Linked DNA regions of Homo sapiens: regions 1, 2, 3, 4, 6 and 7 are each linked to region 5. The links are contacts of gene promoters, found by promoter capture Hi-C in blood cells and fetal thymus (Javierre and others, 2016). All regions are on one chromosome and are shown on one strand. Each heading gives the region's core, a stretch centred on a gene start or on the middle of the fragment in contact. The rest is flanking DNA. Distances are from core to core; before and after follow the strand shown. Region 1 overlaps CCDC102B (coiled-coil domain containing 102B). Region 2 has its middle 17 kb from the start of TMX3. Region 3 overlaps CCDC102B (coiled-coil domain containing 102B). Region 4 overlaps CCDC102B (coiled-coil domain containing 102B). Region 5 holds the start of RTTN (rotatin). Region 6 overlaps CCDC102B (coiled-coil domain containing 102B). Region 7 overlaps TMX3 (thioredoxin related transmembrane protein 3).

What was found. The method cuts DNA at HindIII sites, captures the fragments that hold promoters and counts their contacts. A CHiCAGO score of 5 or more calls a contact.
Region 1: a fragment that was not itself captured here is called in contact with the fragment with the promoter of RTTN in region 5 in 3 of 17 cell types (monocytes, M0 macrophages and M2 macrophages); the score reaches 6.2 in monocytes.
Region 2: a contact is called between a fragment that was not itself captured here and the fragment with the promoter of RTTN in region 5, in 10 of 17 cell types (total CD8 T cells, monocytes, total B cells and 7 more). The highest score is 18.5, in total CD8 T cells.
Region 3: a fragment that was not itself captured here is called in contact with the fragment with the promoter of RTTN in region 5 in 1 of 17 cell types (M1 macrophages); the score reaches 6.5 in M1 macrophages.
Region 4: a contact is called between a fragment that was not itself captured here and the fragment with the promoter of RTTN in region 5, in 1 of 17 cell types (M0 macrophages). The highest score is 8.8, in M0 macrophages.
Region 6: a fragment that was not itself captured here is called in contact with the fragment with the promoter of RTTN in region 5 in 6 of 17 cell types (monocytes, M0 macrophages, M1 macrophages and 3 more); the score reaches 19.1 in monocytes.
Region 7: a fragment that was not itself captured here is called in contact with the fragment with the promoter of RTTN in region 5 in 10 of 17 cell types (total CD4 T cells, naive B cells, non-activated CD4 T cells and 7 more); the score reaches 14.2 in total CD4 T cells.

The regions. Positions count from the first base shown.
Region 1 is chr18:68,867,040-68,869,968 of GRCh38, forward strand. All of the region lies in intron 4 of CCDC102B (coiled-coil domain containing 102B), which reads left to right. It also overlaps the pseudogene SDHCP1. Among named protein-coding and RNA genes, the nearest start is that of CCDC102B, 70 kb to the left of the region's middle. The HindIII fragment of the contact is 6,831 bases long and covers 1-2,929 here.
Region 2 is chr18:68,730,418-68,733,232 of GRCh38, forward strand. It overlaps a transcript of CCDC102B not described here. Among named protein-coding and RNA genes, the nearest start is that of TMX3, 17 kb to the left of the region's middle. The HindIII fragment of the contact is 4,512 bases long and covers 1-2,815 here.
Region 3 is chr18:68,799,491-68,802,389 of GRCh38, forward strand. All of the region lies in intron 1 of CCDC102B (coiled-coil domain containing 102B), which reads left to right. Among named protein-coding and RNA genes, the nearest start is that of CCDC102B, 2.9 kb to the left of the region's middle. The HindIII fragment of the contact is 5,766 bases long and covers 1-2,899 here.
Region 4 is chr18:68,822,141-68,825,007 of GRCh38, forward strand. The region is part of intron 1 of CCDC102B (coiled-coil domain containing 102B); the gene reads left to right. Among named protein-coding and RNA genes, the nearest start is that of CCDC102B, 25 kb to the left of the region's middle. The HindIII fragment of the contact is 3,269 bases long and covers 1-2,867 here.
Region 5 is chr18:70,204,379-70,207,125 of GRCh38, forward strand. It overlaps RTTN (rotatin), which reads right to left and starts at 1,309. Exons shown (of 49, transcript NM_173630.4): 1 at 1,250-1,309; 2 at 750-937. The coding sequence starts at 1,280. LOC105372180 (a long non-coding RNA gene) reads left to right here and starts at 1,411. Exons shown (of 3, transcript XR_935599.3): 1 at 1,411-2,196; 2 at 2,651-2,716. RefSeq lists enhancers at 1,009-1,138, 1,349-1,458, 1,377-2,006, 1,469-1,708. The HindIII fragment of the contact is 5,232 bases long and covers 1-2,747 here.
Region 6 is chr18:68,840,263-68,842,962 of GRCh38, forward strand. The region is part of intron 3 of CCDC102B (coiled-coil domain containing 102B); the gene reads left to right. Among named protein-coding and RNA genes, the nearest start is that of CCDC102B, 44 kb to the left of the region's middle. The HindIII fragment of the contact is 1,168 bases long and covers 706-1,873 here.
Region 7 is chr18:68,678,435-68,681,134 of GRCh38, forward strand. It overlaps TMX3 (thioredoxin related transmembrane protein 3), which reads right to left. Exons shown (of 16, transcript NM_019022.5): 14 at 2,547-2,676; 15 at 1,029-1,097. Among named protein-coding and RNA genes, the nearest start is that of TMX3, 35 kb to the right of the region's middle. The HindIII fragment of the contact is 9,223 bases long and covers 1-2,700 here.

The sequences.
Region 1 (2,929 bases), core at 151-2,650, 1.3 Mb before region 5:
TCCCAGCGTCATCTTTCCACACACTATTAAGGTCACCTATCCTCCCATTTGTCACTCTTGTCTCCAGTCTGGACAAAGTTCTCCTGATTTATTTAGATCCTTTTGGGCTTTCAGATCCCCTGGAGCTCAGTAGCAGTAGATCATAGTAGTGGAAAAGGGCCCAGATGGTCTCGATTGCCTGACCTCGTGATCCGCCCGTCTCGGCCTCCCGAAGTGCTGGGATTACAGGCGTGAGCCACCGCGCCCGGCCTTCCCCTTGTTTCTAAATATGGAGTGGCTGCAAAATCTTCCCTTTTCCTGCCCACAGCTTGCCTACTCTGGGAATAGAAGCACTTATTCTCTCTCCATATTGGGCTCTGATTTGTGCTGTGGGTCAGCTTTTGGCTCCTTCTCCCTGAGACAGTGGAAACTGCCAGCTCTGTGGCCTGCATCCTGGGGGCTGGGGGTGAGACTTTTGGTGCCACTGCCTGTGGGTTGCTGGCCTAAAGGACAATTCTGTTCATTGGCCAGAACCCATGCCTTTAACACCTACACAGCATTATTGAAAGAAGAGAGAGGAGGTGTGGAAGGGAATTAATCTATCCCAGCTAGAGGGAGATAAAGAGGGCTAGCTGGCCGGGCGCAGTGGCTCACGCCTGTAATCCCAGCACTTTGGGAGGCCGAGGCGGGCGGATCACAAGGTCAGGAGATCGACACCATCCTGGCTAACACGGTGAAACCCCGTCTCTACTAAAAATACAAAAAATTAGTCAGGAGTGGTGGCGGGCGCCTGTAGTCCCAGCTACTCGACAGGCTGAGGCAGGAGAATGACATGAACCCGGGAGGCGGAGCTTGCAGTGAGCCGAGGTCATGCCACTGCACTCCATCCTGGGGCGAAAGAGTAAGACTCCGTCTCAAAACAAAACAAAAAAAAAGGGCTAGTTAGTTGGAGCTGCTGTTTTGGGGAGAAAATATATAGCTTCTGACACAAGAGGAAAATCCAGACAATTATCATTGAGCATATTATTTCTCAATGATATTTCCTCTTATTGCATTTCCAGAAAAAAAAACTTCTTAATTTCATGCTTCCAAGTCCATATACCATTTTTTTCTAAAACTGAGTTAAAATACTCATTTTATAAAAAGTAAATATTTAAAATTCACTAAAAATTTTATTTTTGAGTTTAAATAAATCAACAATTTTAACAAAAACTTTAAAAATTAAAAATATACATCAGCAAGAGAACAAAAGACCACTGAGATAAGTCATTTGACATCCTTATTTTGACTTGAAGAATACAATACATTTTTTGTTTGTTAAAGCTAAACATAATTCACTGTATTTTCTACCATTCTCTAAGGTTAAGGGAGGGAATTAAGTAAAATCTACTTTAAGGGATTTTGGCTAAATTTTTTGAAGCAATGATCCAAGGCGTAAAATGCTTCTCTGTGGCTTATCTGCCCATTTGAAGACTTCTCTGTGCATTGATAAATAATACATATTATTTGGAATCTTAACCTTGCTGTCACATATTTCTGGGCCCACTGCATTTGAGTCTACTCTTTGGACACATTTCCTTCTTACGTTCCTCACCTTTCATAAGAATATATTGCTACCAAACCTGACTAACTGTAAAATACTTGCTCATATACCCTTATGCTAATTGATATTCAATACTTATCCCAAGAACCACATTAAAAATGTGTGTATCAACATGAAGGCAATGGGGAGAGCTAATAAAATTTATTGACCAAGGTCAATATGATCACAATTTCAAAAAATGACTCAAACTCAGTGTGAAGAAGAGATTTGGGGGGTGAGCATGATGAGGAAACTGTTATGAGCCTGTTATAGTAATCTAGGTAGAAATATTCCACGTGTCCTGAGCTTGATGATGGAGGAGGTATGTGGATAGCTGAGAAATATTCAGGTGAAGGAAGTGACAATGATTGATGATTAAACGGATGTTGCAAATGCCTGAAGACACAGGGGAGGTGACAGAGAAGGAGAAGTTAAAGATTTCTGACCTTATCAGCCAGGTGGCCATTCACCAAGAGAACACAGAAACGAGAAGAAAAATGTAAGGGAAAAAGACAGTGAATTTGGTTCTGAATATGTTGAGGTTGATTTGGAAGTGTTTGGTAGGATTTTGGATTTATGAATGTAGAAAGGAAAGTTGAACAATGAGCAGAGAGATGATGGCTTAAGCCATGACAGTAGATGGGATGACTCTGGGTTGGGGCATTGAGGATTGACACCAAGCAAGACAGAGAAAAGGGAAAACTGCACAGAAATCCAAGCAGGAGGGAAGCAGGAAAACCATTCTTTGCATAAGCCCAAGGAAGAGAGTCTTTGAACAAGGGCATTGTCAACTGTGTATAATTCTGCCAAGGAGTCAAGTAAGGGCAGAACTGAATATTGTGTGGTGGAAAGTCTGAGGAATGCTGGTAGCAGAAGCGAGTGAGAAGGGTAAGTGCAACAGCTCTTTCAAGGCACTTGATGGTAAAAGGAAACAAAGAACTTGAGTGGAAGCTCCAAGACTGGATAAAAGATTATCCTTTTTGTAAATCTGTTTAAGTTCGTTATAGATTCTGGATATTAGAAGTTTGTCAGATGGATAGATTGCAAAAATTTTCTCTCATTCTGTAGGTTGCCTGTTCACTCTGATGATAGTTTCTTTTGCTGTTCAGAAGCTCTTTAGTTTAATTAGATCCCATTTGTCAATTTTGGTTTTCATTGCAATTGCTTTTGGGGTTTTATTCATGAAGTCTTTTCCCATGCCTATGTCCTGAATGGTATTGCCCAGGTTTTCTTCTATTTTTTTTTATGGTTTTAGGTTTTATGTTTAAGTCTTTAATCCATCTTGAGCTAATTCTTGTGTAAGGTGTAAGGAAAGGGTCCAGTTTCAGTTTTCTGCATATGGCTAGCCAGTTTTCCCAGCACTATTTA
Region 2 (2,815 bases), core at 156-2,655, 1.5 Mb before region 5:
TTAGTCCAAGAGGATCACTTAGATACTTTTCCAGGACTCCGAAGAAATATTTTGGACCTTATTTGTAGTTATTATGCCATTTTTTCATAATTTCAACAGTGTGACCCACTCATGTAATACTTCTGTCTGCTGATAGATAGATGCAGCTTACTCAAGATAAGCAATTGACTAGAACACTTATGATCTGTTATCATCTTTTCCCTGAATTTTAAAAATGTTAAACATTAATGTAATCTCACACTCGTTCATATACTTAAAGTAGGCAAATCCTACTGATTTAAAAAGTAATAGTAGATTGGTTATGGATGTCTCATATATCTTCATCTGACTGAATGTCACACTTAAGAAGTCAATCCCTTGAGTCAGAAAATGTCTTCTACATGATGTATTTAATACTGAACTGTATTCCGCATCCTGTATCAATATAAGAAAGGTATCAACAGTATCAAAAGGACTGAGTAATAAGATTTCAGCAGAAATATTCTGATATCTTGATCTTCTTTGGCACATTTAAATTAATATTTATTTGGGCTGGTCATTATGGATTTAAGATGTTTATTTTTTAAATTTTATTTATTTATTTTTCTTGAGACGGAGTTTCACTCTGTTGCCAGGCTGGAGTGCAATGGCGCGATCTTGGCTCGCTCCAACTTCTGCCTCCCGGGATCAAGCGATTCTTCTGTCTCAGCTTCCCAAGTAGCTAGGACTACAGACATGCGCCACCACCCCGGCTAATTTTTGTATTTTTAGTAGAGACAGGGTTTCACCATGTTGGCCAGGCTGGTCTTGAACTCCTGACCTCATGATCTGCCCGCCTCGGCCTCCCAAAGTGCTGGGATTACAGAGGTGAGCCACCACATAGATTTAATGTATTTGAGTTAACCATAAGTATTTTTCTATTTTCGATGCTGAGATGATCACAAACCCCTATAATCTAGTTCCTGTGTCCTTTTGATCTGATTCCATTAACCCTTGAATGAAACTTTGGCTTATATGAAAACTTGCACACTCCCTTATCCTTTCCTTCCCCCGACTTGGAATCCGTGATCCTTCCAAAATACCCTGGCTTCTTTTCATGGAAAATTGATTTTTGAGGAACTATAATCTGGACTCTACATTTGCATATTAGGTTGGTCCCATCTGAGGTTCCATTGCCTCAAGGTCATTTTAGTGGCCAGAGGGATAAACAATTTTATATATGTATGTATACATATATAATATAATATAAACAATTTTGTATATGTATGTATACATATATGATATAAACAATTTTGTCTATGTGTGTATATAATATAATATATGTTATATGATCTCCTATACAATAATGCTCATTCAGTTATATATCAGTTGTCAAATTCATTTGGAGCAAAACTCTTCAGACAGACAATAGTCTTGAGATTTTGAAATCTCTGAACACCATTTCTACTTCAGTAAAAGTACAGAAAATTGTACGAATTAGTGCAAGCAAAGCTCTTTTTGGAGGAAATAAATCTTTATTTATTTTTATAAAACTGAACACATATCAAAGGAGAATGGCTTACAGTTATTGAGATTTAAGTTATAGCATCTGCTAAATACTGACTATTTTTCTCACATAAAAGTCCTTTCTCAGTCCTTTGGCTTTAGTACTCTACTCTGAGGAACTTTATTCATGTTGATATATTTTGAGTTACTCAAACATTAAAGTTCAGAAAATGGAGAAGTTAATTTCAGTAAAATACACTGCTTCAGGGGGGAATCTTCAATCTCTTTCCTGTGGGCCAGTTTTTATGGAAGCACAGGGCTTTTCTTCTATCGCCCTGTGTATTTTAAATTATTTCTAGTATTTCTATGGTGGATACCATAAACTGTTTGGTTAATAATAACCATAGCTTGAAGTCTTATTCCTTGAAATGTGTATCTGGCATTTCTTGAAGGCCTTCTTTTTTTTTCTCTCTCTCTTTTTTGGGATGGAGTGTTGCTCTGTCACCCAGGCTGGAGTGCAGTGGCGTGATCTCAGCTCATTGCAACCTCCGCCTCCCAAGTTCAAGCAATTCTCTGCCTCAGCCTCCCGAGTAGCTGGGATTACAGGCACCCACCATCATGCTCAGCTAATTTTTTTTTATTTTTAGTAGAGACGGGGTTTCACCATGTTGGCCAGGCTGGTCTTGAACTCCTGACCTCAGGCGATCTGCCTGCCTCAGCCTCCCAAAGTACTGGGATTACAGGCATGACCCACAGCGCCCGGCCTACTTGAAGGCTTTCTACAGAAATGTCTCATAGTGATCTTTCTTTTGTAACCCTCACCTGCCTGCAGACAACATGAATTCATCTATTTAGAGTTAAGGTTTTCCAGTTTTCTCTTAAAATTTTTAGGATACCATAGTTCCCAGATCTATGTATTAAAAAACTATGATTTTGAGTCATCCTTGCTATGCCAGTTACAAGTTTTACAGACCAGGGACCATCATGGCTAAACATCCATCGCACAAGTGTGGAGCTCCCTTCCAGATTCCTGGGCTGCGGACTTCCATAGACTGATTTAGCCTAGGGACAAAATAAAGACATCCAATGTATAAGGAGAACTATATGAAAAAGAAAGATAGAAAAGTTGGTGGGGAAGGTTATGCTAAGGCTAGAGCGACTCAGAGAAAAAGTAGACTCAGTTAATGATCTTTATGTAAATTCGCAAGTCTTTCTGAACTAAAACAGCTCAGAAATGGAGCCAAAGCCAACCACATCAGCCCCAAGCAGTGAAGGGGATTTAATGAGGTGGGTCTGAAAGAATAGTACCAAGGACTGATGCCTTTCACACACACTCTCTTTGTCGTGGAGA
Region 3 (2,899 bases), core at 51-2,550, 1.4 Mb before region 5:
AAACAATGGCTGTAATTCTTAAAATACAAGAAATGCTCTCAGGTCGTCATATCTCTTATGCTGATATTACAAGACCAATTGAATTCTGCCATAATGCCAAAATATTCAGAAATTCCCTTTTTAGCAGGTATGTGAGTCCTAAAGAGATGCCAGAGGCTTTAAAGAAAAGTTCAACTTCTTGAACTTAGTCTTGAAAAACTAGTGGAACTTGGATAGGTGCTGAAAGCAAGAGGAATACTCTACTTTGAAGAAGTAATTGGCAAAAAGGGTTTTGAACACAAATTAGCATAGAGCATAAAAGAATGGTGAGTAATTTATCTGATTGGAGCAGAAAAAATATACCTTTGTGAGTATCAGACGTTGTACTCAATACATAGAACAGGAAAAATTGATAGAGCATCTTAACATTGCACACAGAAAAATGTGGCCTTTACATATCATACAAAGGGGACAATTGCAAGTTTCTGAAAAGAGGTGGAGTATCTGTGCCTCTTTTCATCATCTTTACCATAATCATCATCATCATCATTTTGCCAACACATAATAGCATTTTCTGCTTGCAAGGTGATTTACATACATATCCACAATTTTGATAGCTTTGCAAGAAAATGAACATTATTTTACACATTATTTTCATTTTGCACTTGAAGGAACCTGCTGTTCAGAAACGTTCAATGATTTGCTTAAAGCCACAGATAAAGAAAGTGAGGGAACCAGAATTTCAAATAATGTCTTTCTGGCTCCAGAGCTATTTCCACGATGTTGTGCTGGTATTCTAGGAATGTGAATCTGGCAGAAGTCGAGCAGAATGGTTTGAAGTGGACACTGGGATTTTAGGGTGCAGGGAGGAGGTCGTGAGACAACAGCCCAAAGATCCATTCCGATATTCTATAAATCCAGACGAATTACTGTTCTATCAGTTGGGCCACACTTTTCCTTTGGGAATTGAGAGAAGAGACTGACGCTGCAAATAAGGGGTAATTTTTACATTTAAATTAGCGGCCCTCAGATTCAACACTTATGCTTTTCTCTCTCTTACATTTTCTTAAATCTACTTAGAGAAGGTATCTTTTGCATTCTCAAAGAAAATGTCATCACTGATTTGCACTGAATATTACCTATTCACAAATGAGATGTGTGAGGTGGCCAGGAATAACACTGGGGATGTACTGACTTTCCTCTGTTTCTTTTTGATACATGGTATCAACGAACACTCAGCGACCAAATACTCTTAAAACTATGGAATGACCAAGTTATTATCAAATAAAGGCATTGTATAAGTTTCATTTCAATAGGTGAAAAGCATAAATAAAATTCACATTGTAATAGATAGTGTGAAATACAGTACATTCACAGTAAAAAAGAATAGAACTTATTTATTAACATGTTTTCCTTCATATATCCAAACCTTAAAGACATTACTTCTTCTCAAAGTAGAACTAGTATCTGGGATAACATTCATTTTCTTCTTCTTTTTTTTCAATGAAATAAAAATTATAGCTTATTTCATAACAACGAGGTTTTTTTGTTCAATGTATACATGATGGTAACTATGCTATCATTTTATGAACATACTGCCTACTAGTTTAGAATCATACTATCATTAAGTAGGCTTTACTGAAGGAGTATCTTTTTGCCGTACACGAAAACAGATGAGGATAGTTGAAATGCAAAGATTTGGTCACTGACCTTGAGATTTTATTTTTGTACAGGTTTAGGTTGCATTCTAAGAATATATTCTATAGAAGACATTTTGTATAACTAGTGCTCCATCCTCAGTGCCCTGACTAATTGTAGATGCTCAATGGAGATTGTGAGCTTGAGACCTTGATTGTAAAATGGAAAACTAGATATTGTATTGGAGGTTGTGCTCAAGGCCATTTAATTGTAGTCATAGCTTTGCAAAGGACTGTTAACATTATTATATACTTAAATATTATCCAAGTTGATTTATATTTAATGATATTTCCTAAAAGAATTGCTGTTGTGTGTCATAAATATATTAAAATATTTGATGTTAAAATTTTGATAGAAGGATTTTTTTAGTAGCTAAAGAAAAAGGTGTCCTTAATATTGAGAAAAAAAACATATGCTCACTGAAGAATTTATAAATATATCTTATCATAGTGTCTGTTTCAAATTTGTAGAATTAAAGTTTCCAAAAATAAAAGTGAGATTTTTAGTCACTGACTCGGGAGCATATGTTTCTAAGCTGCAGTAAACGTTTGGAAATATAACACAGGTAAAGAGGCAATAGTTGCATGAAGAAAAACCTGTAGCAACTTTAGACTCATTTTCATTTGGAAATAGTTTTGAGAGTCTTTCATACAATCTTTCCTTTCCTCCCTTAGTGAATTTAGGATTGTGAAGGCATTAGGTGAAAGATTACATTTATGACCTCTGCAAAAGATCAAATAGTCTTATTAGTCAGCCTATATTCATGAATTTTCTATCTTCTTTTGACATGAAGGGTTTTGAACAAGCGTTTCTTCTCTGGATGAGAAGAAAATGTATTTCACAATAAAACATGAAAATTATAAGGTGCTCAGTGGGATTATAACATTTGGTAGCACAGGAAAAAAGAGAAAGATGTGGAAGTGCCATAATCCATTGGTGTTTCATATAATTCTAGAAGGTTCTGGTTATAACCTGTTCCTAATTTGGAGCTAGAATAATCTCAGGGATTGTCTGAGGGTTCAGGTGAGCTTTGTTCTATCTTTGTTTGGAAATCACTTTACAGGTATTGTCAATGGTAGGAATGAGTTGGGTCAAAGCAACTACGTAGAGTCCCTGCCATCCTATTTTTGATACTGCCCAGGCTTCTTCATTCTTTTTGTAATAATGAAACTTAAGTTATAGAATTTATGATTGCATGGATTAAAAACATGGATGTTGCAAT
Region 4 (2,867 bases), core at 259-2,758, 1.4 Mb before region 5:
ATCCTAGCACTTTGGAAACCCAAGGCAGGTGGATCACGAGGTCAGGAGTTTGAGATCAGCCTGGCTAACATAGTGAAACCCTGTCTCTACTAAAAATACAAAAATTAGCTGGTCACAGTGGGGCACGCCTGTAGTCCCAGGTACTCAGGATGCTGAAGCAGGAGAATCACTTGAACCTGGGAGGCGTAGGTTGCAGTGAGCTGAGATTGCACCACTGCACTCCAGCCTGGGCAACATAGCGAGACTCCATTTCAAAAAAAGAAAAAAAAAACACCTGAAATTTTGTAGAAACAAATAAATGTTTAACATGTCAATTTGGTGTTTTAATTTGAAATTGGGCATTTAAAAACTGTGATTATTTAATACTATTATTATTTTTGTTTTTTACAACGCCTATTTTTAGATACATAAGGTACCTGTGCAGGTTTGTTACATGGGTATGTTGCACCCAGGTAGGAGAGTATAGTACCTAATAGGTAGTTTTTCAACTCCCCTCCTCCCAGTATTCCACAATGTCTATTGTTTCCATTTTTATGTCCATGCATACTCAATGTTTAGCTCCCACTTTAAAGTGAGAACATGCGGTATTTGGTTTTCTGTTCTTGCATTCATTAGCTTAGGATTATGGCCTCCGGCTCCATCCATGTTGTTGCAAAGGACAATATTTCATTCTTTCTATGGCTGTGTAGTATTTCATGATATATATGTGAGGCAGGAGAATAGGGTCTGGAGCCTAAGGCCAACCTGAGGCTGACTTCTTGGAATTGAACCAAAAAGAAAACCTCACCTCTCTATGCCTAAGTGACAAGAAACCAGAGTCACCTGCCTCTACAAACCCCTCCCGCCCCCACACTCCCCTGTAGCACAAATGGGAAGTACCTCTGATTGGTCTGGGGCCAAGCCTTCATTTCAGCCTTTGATTGGTTGCAGGACCAGGCTCCATTTCAGCCTCTGATTGGTTGTGGGCCAAGCCTCCACTTCAGCCTCTGATGAGTCATGGGCCAATGCTTCATTCGCATAGGTTGTAACCAATTGGAGGCCTCTAAAGGGTACATATAGGTGTTACCAAATTCTTTTAGCTTAGTAAAAACTTCAAAGAGCATTGCAATCGGGGCTCTTGAGCCGCTTGCTCGAGTCTGCTCCCTGTCTGTAGAGTGTATGTTTGCTTCAGTAAATCTGTGCTTTCATTGCTTTGTTCTTTTGTTGTTTTGTTTGTGCGTCTTAGAATTCCGAATTCCAAGAACCTGGACAACTTGCCGTCAAGACTTTCCATCAGGTAACTTATGTACCACATTTCTTTATCCAATCCACCACTGATGGATACCTAGGTTGATTCCATGTCTTTGCTATTGTGAAAAGCAGTGATGAGCCTATGAGTGCACGTGTCTTTTTGGCTTCATGATCTATTTTCCTTTGGGTATATACCCAGTAATGGGATTGATTGCTGTGTTGAATGGTAGCCCTGTTTTAAGTTCTTTAACAAATCTCCGAATTGCTTTCCATGGTGGCTGAACTAATTTACACCCCCAGCAATAGTGTATAAGCATTCATTTAACTCTGCAGCCTCACCAGCATCTGTCGTTTTTGGACTTTTTAATAATGGCCATTCTAACTTGTGTGAGATGGTATCTCATTGTGGTTTCGATTTGTATTTCCCTGATGGTTAGTGATAATGAGCATCTTTTCACATGTTTGTTGACTTATTGTGTGTCTTCTTTGTGAAATGTATGTTCATGTCCTTCGCCCACTTTTTAATGGGGTCATTTGTTTTCTGCTTGTTGATTTAAGTTCCTTAAGCATTCTAGATATCAGACCTTTGCTGGATGCGTAGTTTGTGAATAATTTTTTCCCATTTTGCCGGCTATTTACTCTGTTGATAGGTTCTTTTGCTGTGCAAAAGCTCTTTAATTTAATTAGGTCCCACTTGTCATTTTTAGGGTTTTTCTTTTGCAATTGCTTTGGGAGACTCAGCCGAAAATTATTTGCCAAGGCTGATGTCAAGAAGGGTATTTCCTAGGTTTTCTTTTCGGAATTTTATAGTTTGAGGTCTTACATTTAAACCTTTAATCCATCTTGAGTTAGTGTTTATGTATAGTAAAAAGCAAGGGTCCAGTTTCATTCTCTGCATATGGCTAGCCAGTTATCCCAGTAACATGTATTGCACGAGGAGGCCTTTTCCCATTGCTTGTTTTTGTTGGCTTTTTCACAGATCGGATGGTTGTAGGTGTGTGGTTGTATTTCTGAGTTTTCTATTCCGAGCCTTTTGGCAAAGTCTTTAGGGTTTTCTAAGTATAGAATCATATTGTTAGCGAAGAGAGATAGTTTGACTTCTTTTTCAGTTTGGATGACTTTTATTTCTTTCTCTTGCCTGATTGCTCTGGCCAGGATTTCGAGTACTATGTTGAACAGGAGTGGTGAGAGTGGGCATCCTCGTCTTGTTCCAGTTCTCAAGGGGAATGGTTTCAGCTAAAAACTGTGATTTTCAATTACATTCCTAAAATACATTTCATTGGATAAAATATAGACAGAAAAATAAAAATATTGAAATGTGCACAAGTTGTTATTTGAATAGTACAGAATAGCCAGACTGACATGATATTATAAGTCTTTGGAAATGTTTTCTGTTAAGCCAAAGTCTCTGTGAAATTATAATTTTAAAAAAATGTGTAATAATAACAATGATTAAAATAGATCTTTGCTGATCTGAAAAATTTCTTTGTCTATCTTTCATATACACACTGTCATCACACAGTCACACATGCACTCCATAAATAAAAACTGGAAAGGCATAGAGAGATAAATATATATGTACCTCTATGTTTCTGGTAAGAAGGAAATAGGTTAATATATGTGAAATACTCAGGAAA
Region 5 (2,747 bases), core at 59-2,558:
ATCCTTCATGGCTCTGCCCCGAAGTAAGGCACTTCCATGAGGAGCACATACACCTATAGAGACATACATCCAACACTTGATAACATTTATGAAAGATGAGCCAACACACTGAACGCTAGAAATGCACATTATCAATCCCTACTCTTATTTTTTTAATGGGTTACTTTTTTCCACTGACACTCACCTTATGGTCCCAGCCCCAACCGGTCAACAGGATGTCAAAGTAGTTTAAGATTCCTCTACCATTGTACAGTGATTTAGTTTTGAAAGGTTAAACTTACACTTTGATATCTGACCCCGATAACTAACTACTCTTGAGGTAGGCATAAGAATACCAATCTAAAAGCATATGGGCAAGCAACTTAACATTGGTATTTATGAATCACGGTTATGTAACATTATTTTTAAAGTGCTCCCTTTCATACTGACATATCTAGTTTTTAAGATGTAAATGTCAGAAAACAAAAACAGAATACAAATATTAACCTCCAAAGATAACTCAAAAACACAGAACATACCAAAACTCAAAAGAAGTTCTGTGTTACTTCTGAGCACAGCAGAGACCATGTGGGATTCAGTATCACAAATAAAAGATGAACCATATACCCAGATTAATTAAAATTAAACATCTCTGGTTGATTAAAAAAACTTTTAACCCCAATTATTTAACTTTCAATAAACGCTACAATTAAATGACTAAGAAACAAGTCACTCGTCTGATTATTTTCTTTATTTCAAAATGACCCTACCTTAACCAATCTGCTTAACAGGTTCAGAACCTCTTCCTTCATCGGAACGGACGGGAAATTGAACCATTCCAGCAAATGAAGAAAAAGTTGCCTCTCCTGAATGAGATCAGCGTAGCAGATTAAGTTGTGCTCAATCTTGCAGAGAATACTCTTGAGAGCGCGCTCCCTGATCTCGGCCAGCTGATGACCTGTCAACGAACGGCACAAAACTATTTTATTTCCCGACTGCAAAGAGACTACGTTATTTATGCTGTGGGCAGGAGCGGCGTGAAGACGGAATAAACCAGTTTTTTTCAGAAGCAGGCCACTGGTGCCTTCGGGACGCGAACCGCGAAGTTTACACAAAGTCCGAGATGGGTCCCCGGGGGCTATCCTGACAAAGCGGGGGTGAAAGAGGGAGCGGTCGCGGAGCGGCCGGCCGCGGAAACGTGACACGACCATTCTCAGCAAGTGGCCAGAGCGCGGGGGGTGCCTTGGGCGAGGGGCAAGCTGACAGTTACCGAGTTTCCTGATGAGCCCTGCCAGGACCATCTCGTCCCGTCAATCTGCAGCCGCCGGAGAATTAAACTGCCGCGCCACTGCGTCCAGCCACAATTAATGTACCCCCGGAAACACGTCCTGTGGGACGGTGAGTTCCGCAACGCCTGCGCTCACCAGGAGTAGGAGTCATTACGTGAGCCCTTCGCGGCCCCAGCGTCGCCAGGAGAGCTTCCAGCCTCTCTAGAATCACTACTGCGCACTTCCTGGACAGCAGTCTCCGTCGCAAGAAGCGGAGGGAAAAAAAAAAGCAACAAGCAGGGATAGAACCAGCGTTGGCCGCCGCGCACGTCGGGAGTTGTAGTTCTGGCTAGGCCGTGCGTCCTGCACCGATCTCCGGGCCCGCCGCGGCGCCCGCTGGCCTGGGGTTCCGGCTTACAGCGCGGGAATTCGGGAACCCAGCGCGGGCTGCAGAGGCCCCAGCAGGAGCCCCGCCTCCCGGCTCGTCGACGGATTCGTTCTTGGCCCTGCCAATCTGATTCTCAGCTCCCAGAACTTCACGATTTAGAATGTAGACTTTTGCTTTGTGACAGTTCTCCCCATCCCCGACTACTAAATGACGAACCCTCTTTAACTGTGAAATGTACCTGCAAAGTCAAGCAGTGTCTTTGGATACCCAAGTTCAGATATGAACAAGCAAGCTACAAAAGCGGGGTGGGCGGGTATGAGTGAGCAGAAGAGAGAAACCGGGCTGCAAAAAAGGAAAATAAAGGCGGGACGTGGGGGTATGATTTGCTGAATGGTACCAAAGTTGATTTTTTGCACCGTGCACAGTGATCGAGCTGAGCAAATTATTTTTTTTTTAATTATAAGCAGCGGTAAGAACAACAACAAAATTACATTTGGAAAATGATTTGCATTTTCTCGGTCTGATCATTTCACGTTCCCTGGGAAAGGGATGTCAAGGCAGGTAAAGTGGGCCCTCGGTATCCCTAGGTAATTGGTTCCAGGACCCCCGCAGATACCCAAATCCACCCATGCTTAAGTCTCTTTTATAAAATGGTGTAGTATTTGCATATAACCTACACACATCCTCCTATATGCTTTAAATCATCTCTAGATTGCTTACAATACCTAATACACTGTAAATGCTATGTAAATAGTTGTTACACTGTACTTTTATTCATATTATTTTTTAATTGTTGTATTGTTATTTTCAACTGTGGGGTTTTTTCCCGAATATTTTCCATCCCGTGTGTTGAATTCTCTGTGTGCAACCAGTGGACAGCAAAGGCCTACTGTATTCCCATTCCTATTTTGCCAAAGAGGAAACTTAGAATCACAAAAGTACCCCCACACAAAGTCACATTAACTAGTAAGTGACAGATTGAGGAGCTGACCTGATGTTTCTTTGTTCTATTTAGAGTGCCTTGCTGCCTCCTCATGTGTGTCAATAGGAGAGTGATGATATTTGAGTTGGATCTTAAAGAGTAAGTAGGAGTTTGCCACACAAAGAAGTTG
Region 6 (2,700 bases), core at 40-2,539, 1.4 Mb before region 5:
AAGTATATATTATATAACAGTTTTAATTTTCCTGGCTTGAATGGACTGAAATAGGGATAAATATGCATGCTAGCCATTCACAAATACAGTAAGTTCTTTACCACTTACTTTCTGCCAGAAGTTTCTCATTAGTCCCTCTGAAATTTACTAGTGCCACCAATTCCCTTTTTCAGATTCTTCATCTGTATTTCACTAGATTAGTAGATTGTGATCATACAAGTATCTATGTACAGAATAAATATTTATTACTCTACCAAGTGTAAATTCCTAATAGAGGCAACCAACATTAGTAGAAAACAGAATAAAAATGAATTTAATTTTTAGGCTCGTACACATAGTGACAATTTTATCTAGCCCTATACATTTCAGTCACATTCTAATCTCCGTGGTTTTACTTCTTGAAGCATTTAACTTTTTGGTAATTATAGACTTCTCTCCAGCCCACATACAATATTACTTCCCCAGTGCAGTCTAATAGGAGCAATGCAGAGCTGTGTTTTTCTAGATGTAAACTTCTATTCTAAGGTGTCAGTTTTAAAGATATGCATGTTCTGTCTTAACACGCTTATCCATATACATATACACAACATATACTTTTTACTTTCTTGGAATAAATGAACAATTCTCAGAGTAAGTACATTCTGCAGTTCTCAGTGACTTCAGTCTATAATCCATAGACAGGCCAAAGAATAAGAGAAAAAAGGAAGCTTTCCATGGCTTTGTCTTCCTACTCTCCTCTTTTAAGAAACAATCCCACGGACGTGATGAGTCATGGTTCCTGTGTCCATGAATCAACATTTGCATGCAATCCGCATGAGGCAATCAGTCTTTTTTTCTATCACAAGAGAACATTTTCCAAGAATATAGGATATGCTATTACTTATAAATCCATCTAATCTTTTAAATTCTTCTTCCTGGAATATCAGTGAGTGGGTGGCTTCGACTGAGATGTGAATGTATTTTTTTCTGCATTCCCATCTAGTGGGAAAATTCTCTTCTTGACTAGTGCACAGAAATCAACTCAGAAAACTCAGGGACTCATTTTTTTCCATTGTCCTTGACTAGAACCTCCTCATCAAATAGATGAAACTTTATAGTTTTCTTTGCACTCTGAGTACTGTTCAGTTTTATGAATAATTATCCAGTGTATAAAAGTTTCTCATATACTGAGAATTTATATATTTCTGTTGACTTTCATAAAGACTTCCCAGGTAGAAAATTTGGAGTAAGGCCAGGAAAGCTGATCCTCTTATAGGCCTATGTGTACCTAAACATTTGGGAAGCTGAGGTTTGGCAATACCAAATCTCAAGTAACAGAGACTGAGATAAAATAATTTGAACTGTCCCAAACTTCAGAATCAGTTTTCAAATTTCACTGCAGAGACCTCCTTTATCACTTGTAAAATGTTTGTTCTGTGTCCTTTAAGCTGAGCTTCAGTCCTCCCTTTCCATTTTATCATTTTATCTTTTTTTTCTTTTCTTTACTTTTTGAGACAGTCTCGCTCTGTTGCCCAGGCTGAAGTGCAGTGGTGCAATGTAAGCTCACTGCAATCTCAGCCTCCTGGGCTCAAGCCATCCTCCCACCTCAGCCTCCCAAGTAGCTGGAATTACAGGCTGTGCCACCACGCCTGGCTAATTTTTTATTTTTTTATTTTTAGTAGAGACGGGGTTTTGCCATATTGCCCAGGCTGGTCTCAAACTCCTGGCCTCAAGTGATCTAACCGCCTTGGCTTCCCAAAGTGCTAGGATTACAGGCGTGAGCCACTGCGCCCAGCCCATTTTGTCTTCTTAATTTATTTTCTATGTAAGAAAAGTAGCATGCTTCATTAAATGTTCAATTTTTTTCTTAATGAGATTTAAAATCCAGGTTAGAAGCTTCAGCAAATTAAAAATGCTACAAAGGATATTATTTTTTATATATGTATGAAAGACACAGATTTCTACTTTACATATTTAAGAAATTATATATATAAAGTATATATATATATATTCCTCAATGAATACATTGACATGCAAATCTGGTTAATACTATTTAATGTAATATTTGTAAATATTTGAAAATCAAGCTTATTTTGTTACTTTATTAACTGTCACTCATGGAATATTCAATAAACCTTTACCATTTTTTGACTCTCCAGTGTCTATTTTGTGTTTTGGCAATTCACTGCCAAATGAAACAGAGTCTACACCTGTGCATAGATTATAAAAATGCCAGTAAGTCTCTACCAGGGTTTCCTTTGCAATGAGGGTACAGACACTTGACTTAGGAATAGTGCATCAGAGGTGGCCACCTAGACTTTTAAGCCAAGCCAATACCGCAAGGCAATAGACAGCATCTAGAATCCATACCTAAGCGAGAAGCAGCAGCAATAAAGACAACTTGTTTCCAGAGGCAGCGGTGGCCTCTGGTGCTTAGTGACACCACTCACTGTCCCGTATTGGTGATCTTGAGGTCCCGCTGTGATGTCTCTACCTTAATGGTGGCCGAAATAGTGTGCTTACAGGAAGATTTTGATGGCTTTCTCATCAGTGTTCCTGGCTGCATGTATTCCCCAGAAATATTTTGAGCTATAATGTCAATTTCCGCTCAAATTTGCTAATTTGAATACGTTTGCTTGCCAGACACATATTACCAGGAGAGTGTAGAGGCAACAGACAGAGGAGGTTACAGGCAGTGGGGTCTTCATGGGACCAGTTTTG
Region 7 (2,700 bases), core at 104-2,603, 1.5 Mb before region 5:
GGTTCAGACCCAGGGACTGCAAAGGGGAAAGGGAGGAAAGGGATGCTGAAAAACACTGAAGAGATGGGGCAGGAGCAGGGGAGTAGTGATACTCACAGCAGCACGGAAAGGAGAATGTCAAGGAAAGGATGCTTCAAAGAAATCCAGGGGAAATACAACAGATCTAATTAGTTTGACAGAGTGAGCATTAGTTTGATAGAGTGAAAGGAAGAGGAAATTAGAATAGCAGAAATAATCAGGTGAGAGGTGACAGTGAAGAAAGTCAAGGAAATATATTTAGAAAGTATAATTATAAAAACAAGAGAGACGGGTAATTAGGGGCAGACATGTCAATTCGTCTACCACTGTTGATATTCTACTTACATATAACAACTGTGAATAAACACTGGGACAAACAAATGAAAGTAAACACTGTTAGAAAGGATTTGATCCATCACATTTTAATTCCACATTTAAAGTGTTCTATAAAAAGAATAAAAGAAAAAAAAAAGGAAGGAGAGAAAAAGGGAAGAAGGAAAAACATCTGTAAATGATCTTAATTATTTACCAACTAGGGAAAAGTACAGAATTAACAGGGATGTTTAAAATTGTAAGATCTAAAATTTTATTTTGACTCCTGCAAAATAAAAAGTGACTTCCCAGCACACATCATTTTCTTTAACAAAAATGACCAATTTACAGAAGACAGCACGTAATGGAACTAAAAATTTCATATTATCTGCACTTTCAACAAATCATAGAAATTACTAAGTAAAAACTTTACATGGCAGGTTGCAGAAATAAAATCTTTTAAATTATACTATCAAGTTAATTGATTCTGAATTTTAGTTTTAACTCATCAATCATATAAACAATTAGAAACAATTTCCACCTAATGAATATATTTTCTTAAATACTGACTAGTCATATCCTGCAAATTAAAAAGACATATTTTGACCTAATCTTTTCAAATTCAGATTTTTAACACAGCTAGACATAAAGAACCTATATCTTCTTCATTATCAATGACATAAACTGTCACAACTTACCACAATAGTAGATTTGGCATCAAATACTATTCTTTTCAATCTCTGCAAAATGCTATCACCTCCTTGGGCCTTCAAAAAAGGAAAAGAAAAATAAATTATTTAAGCACCATTACTTCATTTACTTGGTGTTACATAACCTTACAATTGCAGGCCAAATGGTTGACTCCAAAATATTACATAATCACCTGAAAAGGCCATGTGGTAAACATTTACTGTGTTGTTTTTTGTCTGTGTCATGTCCAGCATTCCTCCTGCCTGCTTGTGTTAATTCACCCTGATTCTACTCTAAACAATTCCTCCTCCTCTATTCATAACCCACACAGCTTGGCTGAAGCTGACCCACCTCTGAGGACAGCCTAACCAGCTTTTGAGTTTAGCTGGGACCGCAAAACCAGAGCTGCTGCAGGATACCTTTGCTACTGTGCAGGGAGAGCTTCCCTGAGGATGAAAGTGCTGAAGGGAAGAGAGTGAAAAATTCCTGATGAAAATCACTCAAATCCTATATTCGGCCATACCTGCAATCTGGCTCATTTTTTAAATTTCCAAGCTCTATGAGACAATAAAATCTGTTGTTAAATAGTCTGAGTTGCATTCCACTAACTTAAAAATAGAAGGCTGATTATTTATATAGGTGAGAGTTTCATTTCAACAAATTATTTTCAAAAATATTCTTAACTATTTGACTGTTTTTCAAACTTCTTCACCTTGACCGAAAGTAGTTATGTTTGTTACTCTGTAAGCAAATTTTAAATAAAGTTTGTGTAAAACTGAAACAACTCTCAAAAACTAGTAATTACATTTCACAAAAGCAATGAAGGCGCTTTCTTTTAAATTTTATCCTAGTCTATTGAATTAAGATGCATGCTGGTCACAACCTGATTGTGACTTGCGGTGGTTTCATGACTTTCTAATATAGGTTGCAATTCACAGTTTGAAAAACACTGCAGTTAAAATTTATAGGAAAAAAATAGAAAATTAAGACTATTCACTTATTTCTGAGAAATATTTTATAGGATTAAGTCTAGAACTCTCCACGGGGGCTTTTACTCTCAATAAATTTCCTCATTTCTTGAGAAATTGTCATCTTATTTGCAGATTTTCTTAGAAAACCAATCCTAACGACTTAATCCAATTGTACTTTTGGACCTAGAAACATACTAAGAGACAGGCAAGTTCACTATTAAGATTACCCCACACAGTGCAGACTTCCTAGCATCCCTAAGCCTCAACCTTAGCCAACAGCCCCTCCCCATCACCATGACAACCAAAAATACCCTCCAAATAACCCATAAAAGGACACTTCCATCTTTAGCAACCTCTGCCACAGAAGAACCTTCTGTATCTGGGAGAATGTACCTCTACTCTGCCTATAATTGGACAGAAGCAATGTATGGAGGTCCAGCCCTCTACTCCGGGTGATGGCCAACTATTCTTTTCAGAATCACAAGTAAAGAAATGAACTAGTTTCTCCTCTACCCCCTGTCCATCATCTCTTTGAAACAGAAGTGAACAACTTACTTCTACTGTGCCATCCAAAATGTTATTAATAAACTGGACCATGTCTTCAACATTCTTAATCTGTCTATCTAGCAAGAAATATTGCTGGTTTGAAGTATTCAGTACAACTACAGTTGGGACTGTCAATTCACTGAAAATATAAAAACAAATCAAA